Regions from separate parts of the Homo sapiens genome. Here region 1 is linked to region 2. The links are contacts of gene promoters, found by promoter capture Hi-C in blood cells and fetal thymus (Javierre and others, 2016). All regions are on one chromosome and are shown on one strand. Each heading gives the region's core, a stretch centred on a gene start or on the middle of the fragment in contact. The rest is flanking DNA. Distances are from core to core; before and after follow the strand shown.

Evidence for each region. The method cuts DNA at HindIII sites, captures the fragments that hold promoters and counts their contacts. A CHiCAGO score of 5 or more calls a contact.
Region 1: a contact is called between a fragment that was not itself captured here and the fragment with the promoter of SELPLG in region 2, in 1 of 17 cell types (total B cells). The highest score is 5.8, in total B cells.

The regions. Positions count from the first base shown.
Region 1 is chr12:113,059,465-113,065,988 of GRCh38, reverse strand. The region is part of intron 2 of DTX1 (deltex E3 ubiquitin ligase 1); the gene reads right to left. Among named protein-coding and RNA genes, the nearest start is that of DTX1, 6.0 kb to the right of the region's middle. RefSeq lists a silencer at 478-678 and an enhancer at 163-721. The HindIII fragment of the contact is 977 bases long and covers 2,887-3,863 here.
Region 2 is chr12:108,628,912-108,635,143 of GRCh38, reverse strand. SELPLG (selectin P ligand) reads left to right here and starts at 1,250. Exons shown (of 2, transcript NM_003006.4): 1 at 1,250-1,404. It overlaps LOC105369968 (a long non-coding RNA gene), which reads right to left. Exons shown (of 3, transcript XR_007063449.1): 2 at 1-813. RefSeq lists a silencer at 439-488 and enhancers at 1,729-1,778, 3,187-3,336. The HindIII fragment of the contact is 5,781 bases long and covers 1,073-6,232 here.

The DNA of each region.
Region 1 (6,524 bases), core at 2,126-4,625, 4.4 Mb before region 2:
AGGATGGAGGCCCAGGGAGAGACAGAGGTGGCGGGCGGAGGCCTGGGAGCACCCCAGGCACCCCCATGCACCAAGAACATCACACTGGAGAGAGAGTTAGGGACCTCAACCCCATTGCCTACTGCCTGAATGGGCACTTGGAGCCACTGTGACCAGTCCTGCCCCAACCCCTTGGCCTCCCCGTGGCCTCCCCGTCCTGGCCCCTCCTCGTCACCCTCTCATCACACCCTCCATCATCTCCCCTCCCAACCCCTCACGCTTCACTCCTTACCACCTTCTTCACCATCCCCTCCACAGCCCCGCTACCTGTCACTTCCGCATCACCTCCCCTACTCCAGCCCCCACGCTTCCCATCACAGCTTCCATCTCCTCCTTCCTCTCCAGGTCAGACTCCGCAGCTCCTTTGGAAGAATGAGGCGGGGGATGGGAGGAAGCTGGAGAGGAGGAGGGAGGGAAGAAGGAGGAGAAAGGGGTGAGGGGAGGAGAAGGAGAGGGAGAGGGCTGCGAGGGGGTCTGTCCCGGGCATCCCCACCCCCAGCCCGGAAGGCGCGGGCGGGTCGTTGATGGTGCTGTCCAAGGTACTCGGTGGCCCGGGCGAGCCTGGGAAGGGCCGTGCGCACCCAGCTGCAGACCTGGATCTGATCTCAGACCCGTCTCTTCTCAGCGTCGGCAGGCGGCTCCCCACCCTCTGAGCTTCAGCTTTACTATGTGTAAAATGGGGTGACACCCGCTGGCTGGGTGAAGGGAACCCAGACAGACTGTAGGAAGTGCCTGAGGCTGCCCCTGCCCCACCTGCTCCAGCTCCAAGGGCCCGTGATTAATGAGGCTGGTCCTGCAGCGTGGCTGTGAGTCCCCCGGGGCCTGGCTGCTAAAGGGCAGCAGCTGGCAGCCCAGCCTGCCAGGCCCCAGTGGGCCCCACGAGGCCTCCTCTACCCATCCCCTATCTCCCATCACAGCCTCCCTCTGCCACCCAGGCCTGAGACCCTCCTCCAGGACCCTGCTGAAGGACCCCTGCTGTTTCCTCCACCTGTAAGTGTTCCTCCTATCATTCTATTTACCCAAATCACACACTCTCAAAGGACTCCTCCTCCAGGAAGTCCTCCTCTCAGAGGCTCCAGGCATACACCATGCACATCCCATGGCTGAAGGCACCGTGCATCTGCCTAGTGAGGCATTTAAATCTTTTTCTTCCTCGAGCATGAGTGCTTACTACGTGCAAAGTAGTATCCTCCAAGCTTTTATCTACATATCTCATTTATGTATCTCATTATGTCCTCATGACAACCCTCCCAGCTAGGGACTATTCTTATCCCCATTTTACAGAGGAGGAAATAAACTCAGAGACGTTAAGGAATTTGCCCATGGTCACACAGCCAGCAAGGGGCCAAGCTGGGTTTTAGGTCTGTATCTGTTGTCCTTATGAGTCAGAGGGTTCAAAGGCTATTTCCATGATATGCATTTGCCTTCACCTTCACTAGACTCTGAAACTGATCTGAAATGGATAGATTAGACTCTGAAATGGATTTTGCCCTTCTCTCTGAGTCCCCAAGACCCAGCCCAGGACCTGGTACTGAGAAGCCACCAATGACTACCAAATACGAGCGATGAATTTAGTTTCAAAACAGGCTTCTGGAGTTAGCCAAGCAGCCAGAGACCATGGGTCTGCAATAGTAGAAATACAGACAGCGTGACTGGTGGTTGGGGAGCACCCACATATGGATTAGCTGGACCTGCTGCTACCAGAGATGGGCCGCTCCCTGCCCCTACACATAGTCTTTCTTGCCCCTGGCATCAGGCCCAGCCCTAGTCTCCAGTGAGGAGGCTGGAGAGAGGGTCCCAAAGGGTCCTGTAACCAGGAGCTGAGCCCTGGAGGCCTCCAGGGTAGTGCAGGCTGTCCCTGCCTTGGGCTAGACCCTGACAACAAGCCCCAAGAGCGCTCTCAAGGGAGAAGGGGGAAGGGGGAAGGGGTTCTCTCAGCCCTGGCATTAAATGTCACCTTGTTTTCTATCCCTAAGGCCTGTCTGGGGGGCCTGGGCTCTAGCTTAGGACTGGTAGGCTGTGTGACCTTGGGGAAGTCACTCACCCTCTCTGGGCCTCACTGTCCCCAGTTGGTGTCTAATTCTGGAGGTGTTTTCCCCGGTGATGGGAAAAGCTCCTCCCATCTGGGTGGTAACAGCCTAAGGGTCTCCAGCCTAAGTGTCCTCAGATAGTGCTTCCTCTCATGGCAGGGACCAGGGCTGAGTGAAGCCCAAGGTTTCCAGGGAAGGAGGCAGGCTGGAAGATCCCAGAACCAGCCACCACCTGCCACTCCAGCCTGTTGGCCAGCTTGGGGGCACCAGAAAAGGCCAGGCTTGCAGCCTCGGGTATGGCATCTTTGGATGGTCCCCAGCTGGCATCCCTCGGCCTCAGCTATCCCATCAGCAGAAGGGGCAGGAGGCTGCCATGCACCCCTCCAGCAGCACATGGAGAGCGACATGGGAGATACCAGGCAGATAGGTGCCCCTCCCCAGCTCCAGTCATATGAGGCCAGGGAGCGAGCTGGGAGCTTCTGCGGAAGTGGCTGAGTTACACCTCTGTCCAGCTGTGTGAACTGGGTGGGAAATTCAGGGTCTGGGTGAGGCCCTCGGAGGCGGCTGTCCCAGTGGCAGGGGATGTAAATGACCCCCCAGGGAAGATGTGGCTTCTTCTCTGGGAGCAGAAAGCCATTCTCAAACCTTTCCCCGACTGCCAGTGGCAGCCAACCCCCTCACCCCAAGACCCTGATGGCTCCTGGGCCCAGCCCAGCCACCAGCTGAGCATACCCTTCGGCCTTGGGCTTCCCATATGTGGCAATCTTTGTCTGTGGGAGGGACGGTTGGAGACAGAGGGAAATGAAGAAAGAAAGCTTTGAGGGAAACCGGGCACTTGGCTCAGTACTGCGAAGCGAGCAAGCGACCCATCCCTCGCCCAGCTCTGACTCTCCCTCCAACCCTCTGCCTGGGACACCACCGTGATTGATCTAACATCATCCAGCTCAGGGTCACAGCATTAGGCCTCCCCGTGGAGGGGCTCCAGTTTCCAGTCCAGACTCTGGGCTCTGGACCTGGAGGGCTTCAAAGGGAACCTCACCCCCTGCAGGGAGCAGTGAAAACAGCCCAGCAGGGGAAAGGTGAGGGGGCACGGCTGAACAAACCGCAGCCCCTGTGGGGCCAGAGCCTGGCTTCTCCCCTGTGGCCCCAGCCTGACACCGGGGCTTTCTTCCGCTGGCTGCACTGCACGGGAGGCACATACACAGGGCATGTGTGTGTCGGCATTGTGCGAGCAGACTGGTGCTGTGTGTGTGTACGCACACGCACGTGTACCTTGGTACACACCACAAGGGGTGGATAAGCCATGCTGGGTGTCCTGTGGCACCAGCACGGTCTTACCCCATGCTCAGGTTCAGAACATGTGGGGCAGGGGTCAGTGAACCTGCAGCACACAGGCCAAATCCACCCACCATCTGCTATCGTGCAGCTCAGGAAGTAAGAATGGCTTTTACATTTTTAAATGGTTGGGGGAAAAAAAAGAATATTTCATGACCCGTGAAAAAGATATGAAATTCAAATTTCTGTGTCCACAACTAGTTTGATTAGAACACAGCCACACGCATTCACTTACATATTGTCTATGCTGCTTTTCTGCTCCGATAGAGTTGAATAGTTACAACAGAGACTGCAGGTCCCACAAAGTTAAAAGATTTATTATCTGATGCTATTAGAAAAAAATCAGCCAGCTCCTGCATTGGGAAACTAGCAAAGCTAGGGCAGTCTCCCCTCAAAGTTCAAGTTCAGCTTCAATGAACATATCAAGAATTTTACAATTAGAAAATCTAGACAGAAGCTTGTGTTGATTTCAGCACATACACATGAGTTTTGGGTTTTACAGCATTATGTTGGAGTGTGTGTGTGTGTGTGTGTGTGTGTGTGTGTGTGTGTATGAAATATAATATTTTCAAGATTCACAGCCAGGCACAGTGGCTCACGCTTGTAATCCCAGCACTTTGGGAGGCCGAGGCGGGCGGCTCACTTGAGGCCAGGAGTTCAAGACCAGCTTGGCCAACAGGGTAAAACCCCATCTCTACTAAAAATACAAAAATTAGCCGGGTGTGGTATGTGGTAGCTTGCCTGTAATGCCAGCTACTTGGGAGGTTGAGGCACGAGAATCACTTGAACCCGGGGAAAGAGGCTGCAGTGAGCCGACATCACACCACTGTACTCTAGCCTGGGAGACAGAGTGAGACACTGTCTCAAAAAAAGAAGAAAAAAAAAAGATTTAAGATCTTTTGCTTGTCTCTCTTGTACCCACAGTGGTGAGCACGTGCTAGATGCACAGTAGATAATTAGTTGATGTTTGTGGGATAAAATCAGCCAGATTCTCTCTGTTCAACCCGACAACCCTGCTGGAGAGGTGATCCTCTCACCCATTTCACGGATGTGGAAACTGAGACCTGGAGAGGCCTGAGGTCACACCGTTGGCACTCAGGTCTGCTCCCTGCCGGTTGAGGCTCTTTTCCAGTGCGTTACCAATGAGGACAAGACGTCCTTTCTTGACATTGTTTTGCTCCTGGGTAAAGCGAGGGAAAAACCCTCACATATCTGGTGAGGAGGCCTCTTGCCCCACTCTCCAGCAGGTTCCCAGGCAGCTGAGGTCTCCTGCCAATCGCAATAGGTTTCCAGGCCTTCCTCCCTCTCTGGTTGGGGTGGGAGGGGGTTCCTGGCAGGCTCCCAGGAGTCCATTTAGGAATGAGTGTTTTTTTTCCCTTTTCCGGCAAACAGGGGGCAGGTGTGGAGTGAACAGCTCTGGAGAGAGGGAGAGGGGAAGTGACCAGAGCTGAACTTCTGGGGGATCCAGTGAGGCTGAACCATAAAAGGGGTACTATTGAGAGAATGGGGCCTGATGAAAGGGGAGTGTGCAAGTCTGGGGACTCGGGAACATAAGGGGATGCTGGGAATAGAAATGGGGGTCCCCCCAAAGATAAGAGGATCAAAGGTAAAGTTGCCAACTTGGCAGCCTTGTGGGGAGTCTGTCCCTGCTTCTAAGGACCCTGCCGCCCATACCCAACCCAGCTAGGTCCCGGAAGATCTCTACACCCAGCATTAGCTCTGAACCTGCAGAACACCAGACCTCCTAGCAAGGAGTGACACCTACCCACTTCTGCTCTCACAGCCCTGCCCTCTACCCCTAGGAGAAAACAGAATGGGGCGGGTAATGTGCAACACTTCCCCTTCTTCCATCAGGTCCTTGGTGCCTCTCTGGAAGAATGGGCACATGGAGCTAATGATGACTTCTACTCTCTGGATCAAATTCAAAGTTCTTTGCGTGGCTGTCCAGGCCTGTACATCCGGTCCTTGCTCAGCTGCCATCTTGCACCATCTTCCCCTTGGTGGGAGATGCATCCCAAACAGAACGGACTTAAATGTCCTCTGCCCCTTCCTACCCCAGGGCCTTTGCACTGGCTGTGCCCTCTGCCTGGGACACTGGCACCCTCACTCATTCTTCAGATCTCTGTTCAAACATCACTTTCTCAGGCTAGCCTTCCCTGAGTACCTCTGGGCCAGGTTTAGTTCATGCTCTCGGATCTGCCACTGATTGTCTCTGTGGTGATATGTTTGCTTGCTCCCTGACCACACCAGGACCTTCAGTGTAGGTCCTCCAGCACAAGACCTCGACTGATGACTTTGTCTTGCTCCCTGCTGTACTCCAGTGCTTAGCACAGAAATTGACACACAGCAGAGATCAATAAATAATCATATGATGGAATGCATGAACAATTGGCACCATCAGTGATGGTGGTCAATGCCTGGAGTTACGGAAACATAGATGTACTAATCTGTACCATCAATAAGCCATTTGTTATGAATTCGCCTGTGTTTCCAGACATGGTAAGCACTCTGTGGGTACCTAGCAATGTTCCGGACTATTGGAAAGTTCAATCATTGCAGAAACTTATATTGGACTGTGCTAGTTAGAAAGGCTGGCCTCCTTTCTAACTAGCATGGTGTAATAGAACTTTCTGCAACAATGCAATGTTCTGGATCTACACTGGCCCACAAGGTACCACAAGACACATGTGGCTATGAGCACTTGAAGTGTGGCTAGTGAGACTGAAGAACTGGATTTTACATTTTACTTAGTTTTAATTAATGTAAATTTAAGTAGCCACATGTGGTTGGTGGCTAACATATTGGTTGGCACAGCTCTAGAGGGAAAGCGAGCATCCTACCAGCCTGGGGTTATTACGTGTGGTTCTGTCATCCAGGGATTCATAGGAACTTCCCCAAACCCCATCAGCTGGTCCTTGGGGGGTCAAACATGCCAAGGATTTCTAGGCTGCTTCTGCACGGCAGGACCCCACCAGTCCCCACTGCCCATGGAGCTTGTCACAGATACCACCGGGCAATGACTCAGGGAGATCTCCCCAACGATGACAAATCTCCAGAACAAAAGAGAGTAGGCCTGAGAGTGGGACCTCATCGATTTTATCTCCATCATCAGCCATCACA
Region 2 (6,232 bases), core at 1-2,500:
CCTGAGGTCGAGAGTTCAAGACCAACCAGCCTGACAAACGTGGAGAAACCCCATCTCTACTATAAATACAAAATTAGCCGGGGTGGTGGCACATGCCTGTAATCCCAGATACTCGGGAGGCTGAGGCAGAAGAATAGCTTGAACCCGGGAGGCGGAGGTTGCGGTGAGCCGAGATTGTGCCATTGCACTCCAGCCTGGGCAAAAAGAGTGAAACTCCATCTCAAAAAAAAAAAAAAAAAACAACTTTGTGCAAGGCAAGATATGAGTATCTTTCTGTGCATGTCCTGAGCCCTTGCCTGGTGCAAAGCCGCAGGGCAGATCCTGGGAGACCCCCCTATTCCCTCCCTTCTGGAAGTGTCTGGGTATTCTTAGGCCTCCCAGCCTTTGCCTCTGCTGTGCTCTCTGCCTGGGATGCCCACCTGGCTTGTCATCTCAAGTGCCACTTCTTGGAAGCTCCTCCTGTTAACCTCCCTCCCCCACCCAGGATGGAAGGAGAGGCCCCTCCCTTGCTCACCGCAGGATGGCACTCACTGCGCTGTGTCATTGTGGCATGATGTTCCACCGAATTGTTTACTCGCTGGCCTCCCCATTGGATGGAGGGCTACCAGAGGGCCACAGCCCAGAATTGCTGGCCTTTAGACCTCAGGGCATGCAGTCTGGAGTGCCAGAGTTGGTCAAATGAACAAATTTAGGATGAAGAAATAAGATAAGCAGGACTTGCCCTTGTGGTATCTGTAGTCCAGCTCCCTAGAGAGGCTCTTGGTTGCAGCTGAAAGGGCCTGTGCTGTGCATCTACAGAGAGTGTTTTGAGTCCTGCGAGAAGAAATACACCATATTTGCAAACCCTTTGAAGGTTCATATTTTGTGTTTTTTGCTCCCTGACCACCTCCCACCCCTCCCCACGCCCCACCAATCTTGGGCAAGAAGCGAGACCATTCTCCTTTTTCTCTGGTCACTCCTGTCCTTCAGGGGGCTCCCTCTGGCCCCGACTGTCCATTGCTGCTGAAGTAATGCTGTGGCCTTTCTCAGTTTGGGCCCCACCCAAAACCGAAGAACTTCTCCCCAGAAAGCTTCTACTTGGTTCTCAGTGTTTTCACAGTTATGGGAACCCAAGAACAGTGTCAGACCTAGGAGGTGCCCCACTACCACCCTGTCTTTATCAATGTTGTCACCAAAGCTGTCACAAACAATGGGGTGTGGGCTGTCACATGGCCCTGCCTAAGTAACCACATTCTCGCTTCCTCCTTCCACACACAGCCATTGGGGGTTGCTCGGATCCGGGACTGCCGCAGGGGGTGCCACAGCAGTGCCTGGCAGCGTGGGCTGGGACCTTGTCACTAAAGCAGAGAAGCCACTTCTTCTGGGCCCACGAGGCAGCTGTCCCATGCTCTGCTGAGCACGGTGGTAAGTGCTGGCTTGCAAAACCACAGGGAGTGGCTGGAGGTCCCCATGGGCCAAGGGCCTGCCTTATAGCTGCTGGCAGGCCCGGGTAGGACCGCCAGGCCCTTCTTGAGCTGCAGCACCTGGGGAGGGCAAACTGAGGCTCCTCCGACTCAAGACTAAAGTCTTCCTGGAGTCTGTGGCCTTATTCTGTGACTCTTCTGAATCCTGCTCCTGCCAACTTTTTTTTTCCTTCTTTTTTTGAGACAGGGTCTTACTCTGTCACCCAGGCTGGAGTGCAGTGGCACAATCATGGCTCACTGCAGCCTTAAACTCCTGGGCACAAGTGATCCTCCCACCTCAGCCTCCTGAGTAGCTGGGACTACAGGCGCACATCGCCGCATGCAGCTAATATTTTTACCTTTCCTAGAGATGGGGTCTCACTTTGATGCCGAGGCTGGTCTCAAACTCCTGGCCTCAAGCCTCTTGCGTTGGCCTCCCAAAGTGCTGAAATTACAGGTGTGACCCACCAGCCCCAGCCTCCCATTAACTTACTTCCCTCCCTGGCCAGTTTGCCTGCAGCGTCTGGCTTGGCGGCATTCTGATTTTGAAAATCAGAGAAACCATGAGTGTTTCCCTAGAAATGATCTTATCCTCTCCTTTCCTGGATGGGAAACTGAGGTCGGGAGAGGTGAAGGGATTTGTTTAGGGGCAGAGCTGAGATTAGGTCTGGAAGACTCCAGAAAGTAGGGGGAGTGCAGGATTTCTCTTGAAGCTGCATGTTATGGACGCATAAAAAAGTTCTTTTCAGAGAAAGATGCATTCTTCCCACTTTTTATAAGACTGAGGAAATGACACTTGTCTGTGGCAAACTATTAAAATATTAGAATTAAGATACTATTGTTAGCAAAAGGGAAAACAATAATAATAATAATAATTAGAATATTTGGCTGGGTGCAGTGGCTTACACCTGTAATCCCAGCCCTTTGGGAGGCCGAGGCAGGTGGTTGGCCTGAGCTCAGGAGTTCTAGACCAACCTGGGCAACATGGTGAAACCTCGTCTCTACCAAAAATACAAAAACTTAGCTAGGTGTAGTGGTGTATGCCTGTGGTCTCAGCTACTTGGGAGGCTGAGGTGGGAGGATCACTTGAACCTGGGAGGGGGAGGTCGCAGTAAGCCGAGATTGTGCCACTGCACTCCAACCCGGGTGGCAGAGTGAGACCCTGTCTCAAAAAAAAAAAAATTAGAATACTCTTATTAGTTTGTATTTGAGATACTTTCAGGACACTAAAAGGAAATGGTGGGGGCCAGTTGTGCCCTGCTGTACACACATTCACACACACACACACACACACACACACACACACACACACCCCATATTGTCGATATCTGGGCTTCTGTTGCCTGGAATTCTCTTCCTCTTTCCTCTTTCTTCTGTTTTCCTTTTTTTTCCATCTCTGACTTTGAGGCCCCCAGAGCCAGGCCCCTCAGTGGGCCGGGGCCTCAGAAGGTGGCTCCCAGGCCCTCAGACAGCCCCAGAGTCTCTTCCGAGGCCGTGCCCTGGGTGGTTGATGCCTCCCTCAGCAGGCTTGGCCAGCAGCCAGGGGAGTTAAACCTCAGAGAGCGGAAGGGCTGGGTTGCTAGGCTGGGCCCAGAGTGGGGCATTCAGAGGAGCTGGGGAATCAATCATCCGAGAACCTTGGAGGGTGGACAGTGCCCCTTTTACAGATGAGAAAACTGAGGCTTGAAGGGGAGAAGCAGCTGCCTCTGGCGGCATGGCTTCTGGCTGCAGGATGCCCATGGAGTTCGTGGTGACCCTAGGCCTGTGTCTCGGCTTCCTTTGCTGAACTTGAACAGGAAGATGGCAGTGGGGGCCAGTGGTCTAGAAGGAGATAAGATGGCTGGTGTGTGTGTGTTGGGGGTCTGTGTTTGTTAATCTGTCTGTCTACACAGGGGTGTTTAGAAAACTGTTTAAAGACAGTTGTTCAACTAACCAGATGTAGGTCTCATTGAATTCATTTGTGCCAAGTACCTTACTGCCTCTGGATCAGGCCAGCAAGTTTGGGTTCCAACAGGTGTAACTTGGTTCTTGGTGGGGTGGAGGGTAGGGAGGGGGGTGTAACAAAAAAATCTCAACTAACACTGTGGTTTGCAAGCCACCAAACATTAAACAGATATACAGCATATCTGTGCTATTAACTTTTCATGAGGAGGGCTGGTCACCGTGGCTCATGCCTATAAATCCCAGCACTTTGGGAGGCTGAAGCAGATGGATTGCTTGAGCCCAGGAGTTTGAGACCAACCTGGGCAACATGGGGAAAACCCATCTCTACAAAAAATTTAAAAGTAGCCGGGTCTGGTGGCATGCACCTGTAGTCCTAGCTACTTGGGAGGATCGCTTGAGCCCAGGAGTTCAAGCCTGCAGTGAGCTATGATTGCACCACTGTAGTCGAGCCTGGGCAACAGAGAAAGACCCTATCTCTAAAATTAAATAAATAAATAAACCTTTCATAAGGGCGATGATAAGTGGGAAAAAATGTCTACAGAGACTCCCTGATGTGAGTTGAGGTAGATGACGGAAAGAGGTTGCAAAGTGTCAGCTGGCAAATGTGGTGTGAAAAGTGTGAAGACAGCACGTGCTGTGCAGTTCTGTGCACGTTCCCCTGCCTCAGTCACATGTCCTCTTCTGCAGAGGCATTTAGTGAGGCCCCTGGGGATGCCAGGAGACCCAGGAGAGCTCCTGCCCTCCAAAAACTTGTGGTCTGGTGGGGGCAGCAGAGCAGACAGCCACAGTGGTTGCCAGCCACTGGGGCGAGTGTTGCGAGGGGTGTGTGCCTGCCCATCGGCTGAATCCTGGGCCTGTGGCCTGATCAGCAAGACAGCTGTGGTTCCTGCCTTCTGGAAGTTTAGGAGTCAATGTGAATACATTTTTAGAAAATAAATGAACAGCAGAAATGATTTAAACACGGGAGGTGACTAATCGTGCCTGGGGCAATCTGGAAAGGCTTCTGGGAGGACTCAGCATTTCCCTGGCCCTCTTCAACCCACAACAACCCCATAAAAAGCGGGTGCTACCATTGTCCTTGTATTCCAGCTAAGGAACCCACAGCTCAGAGAGGTGAGGTGAGTTGCCCCAGGTCACACAGCTTCTAAGGGACAGAGCTGGGGATTGACCTGGTTTGATGTGACTCCCAGGGCACAGCAGGGCAGGGCAGGGCCTGTCCTGTCTACCCAGACTTAGATCTGCTGCCTGTGCCTCAGTTATCTGGGGTCTTTCCTTCTCTTGGTGACTACTTGACCCAAACCCTGAGATGCTCAGTCTTTTGAATTTTAGCATTCCAAGATCCTGCCCGCTCTGACCACCAGTTTCAGGATTCTCAGTGCAAGGTTCCTAGCGGCGTGGAGCCCCACGAGGATCTTTCCTGAGCAGCTCAGGGCGGCCACACGGCGGGTTCTCTGGAGCTGGAGTCTGGGCCCCCTGCAGCCTGCTCCTCCACACAGCCTAGATGGGGCCCATATGGGGTCTAGATGGGGCCTGGGCCAGAAGCAGCCTGGTTTTAGGGCGAAAGAGGCAAACGAGCAGTCTCTGACCTACTCTGTTAGGCAAGTGTTGAGACAAATAGGACGTGGTCACTGGAGACGCCTCTGTCGGAGCCCTGCCCTGGCCCCACTTCTGTGGGACTGTTTTTTGGCCTTCCAGGAAGAGGAGAGGTGGAAGGTGGGGCCTGGGAGTGATCCCGCCGCTCCGGGCCTTGCTTGCTAATCAGTGTGATGGCACCGTTAGAGCCAGTGAACACAGGGGTGAGGAGGAATGAGGTCACCAGATAGTGAGAGGATGAAATCATCCCTCCGTGGGAGGGGCTTCCACATATGTCATTTTTATTGTTGTATAATACATTTACTGTAGCAAATATTAAGGAGGTATTATGCTACCTGCCATACACGGTGAGAAAACTCAGCTCCTCCCCCTTCTACCTGTGTGGCCTCAGCTGAGACAAGATCTCTCAGAGCCTCGGGTTTTCTTTTCTTTCATTAAAAAAAATATGTTTTTTTCTTAGAGACAGGGTCTTACTCTGTCACCCAGGCTGGAGTGCAGTGGTGCGATCATAGCTCACTGCAGCCTTGACCTGGGCTCAAGCCATCCTCTGGCCTCAGCCTCCCGAGTAGCTGGGACTACAGGCATCACCAGCATACCTGGCTAATTTTTAATTTTTTTGTAGATATGGGTCTCAGTATGTTGCCCAGGCTGGTCTTGAACCCCTGCCTTCAAGTCATCCTCCTGCCTTGGCCTCCCAAAGTGCTAGGAGTACAAGCTCGAGGCACCGTGCCTGGCTGAGCCTCAGATTTTCTTTCTGTTAGATGGGCTGATGCCTGCTCAGCTGTGGCCTGGCTCCAGGCTGCTGTGTCTTAAAGCCAGTGGGATGGCAGGGACCAGGCTGGGGTGACCAACAACCCCCCACCCCCAGTTTGCCTGGGAGTGAGGGGTTTCTGGGGTTGAGGGACTTTCAGCACTGACACCAGGAACATGTAGGATAAGGTGGTTGCTTTAGACGGGCCCAGGAAAGGAGGTCTGGGCTTTCCGAATGTACCAGGTCTTATCATAACAGGTACGGAGGTCTCTGCTTTCTCAAAGCCCAAACACCCACAGGGGAGGTAGAGAGGCCGCCATCTCCATACCCTCTGAGTCTGAGACCTCCATTTCCTCTGCTCATCTGCCTGCAGCGCCGAAGAGAGTCCTCCAGATAAAGTACCCCCGGCTGGAAGCCAGCGTCTGGGAACTTCCATACACTCATTCAATTCTCATGATGATTTTTTTTAAGCAATATTGCCGGTTTTACAATGAGGAAACTG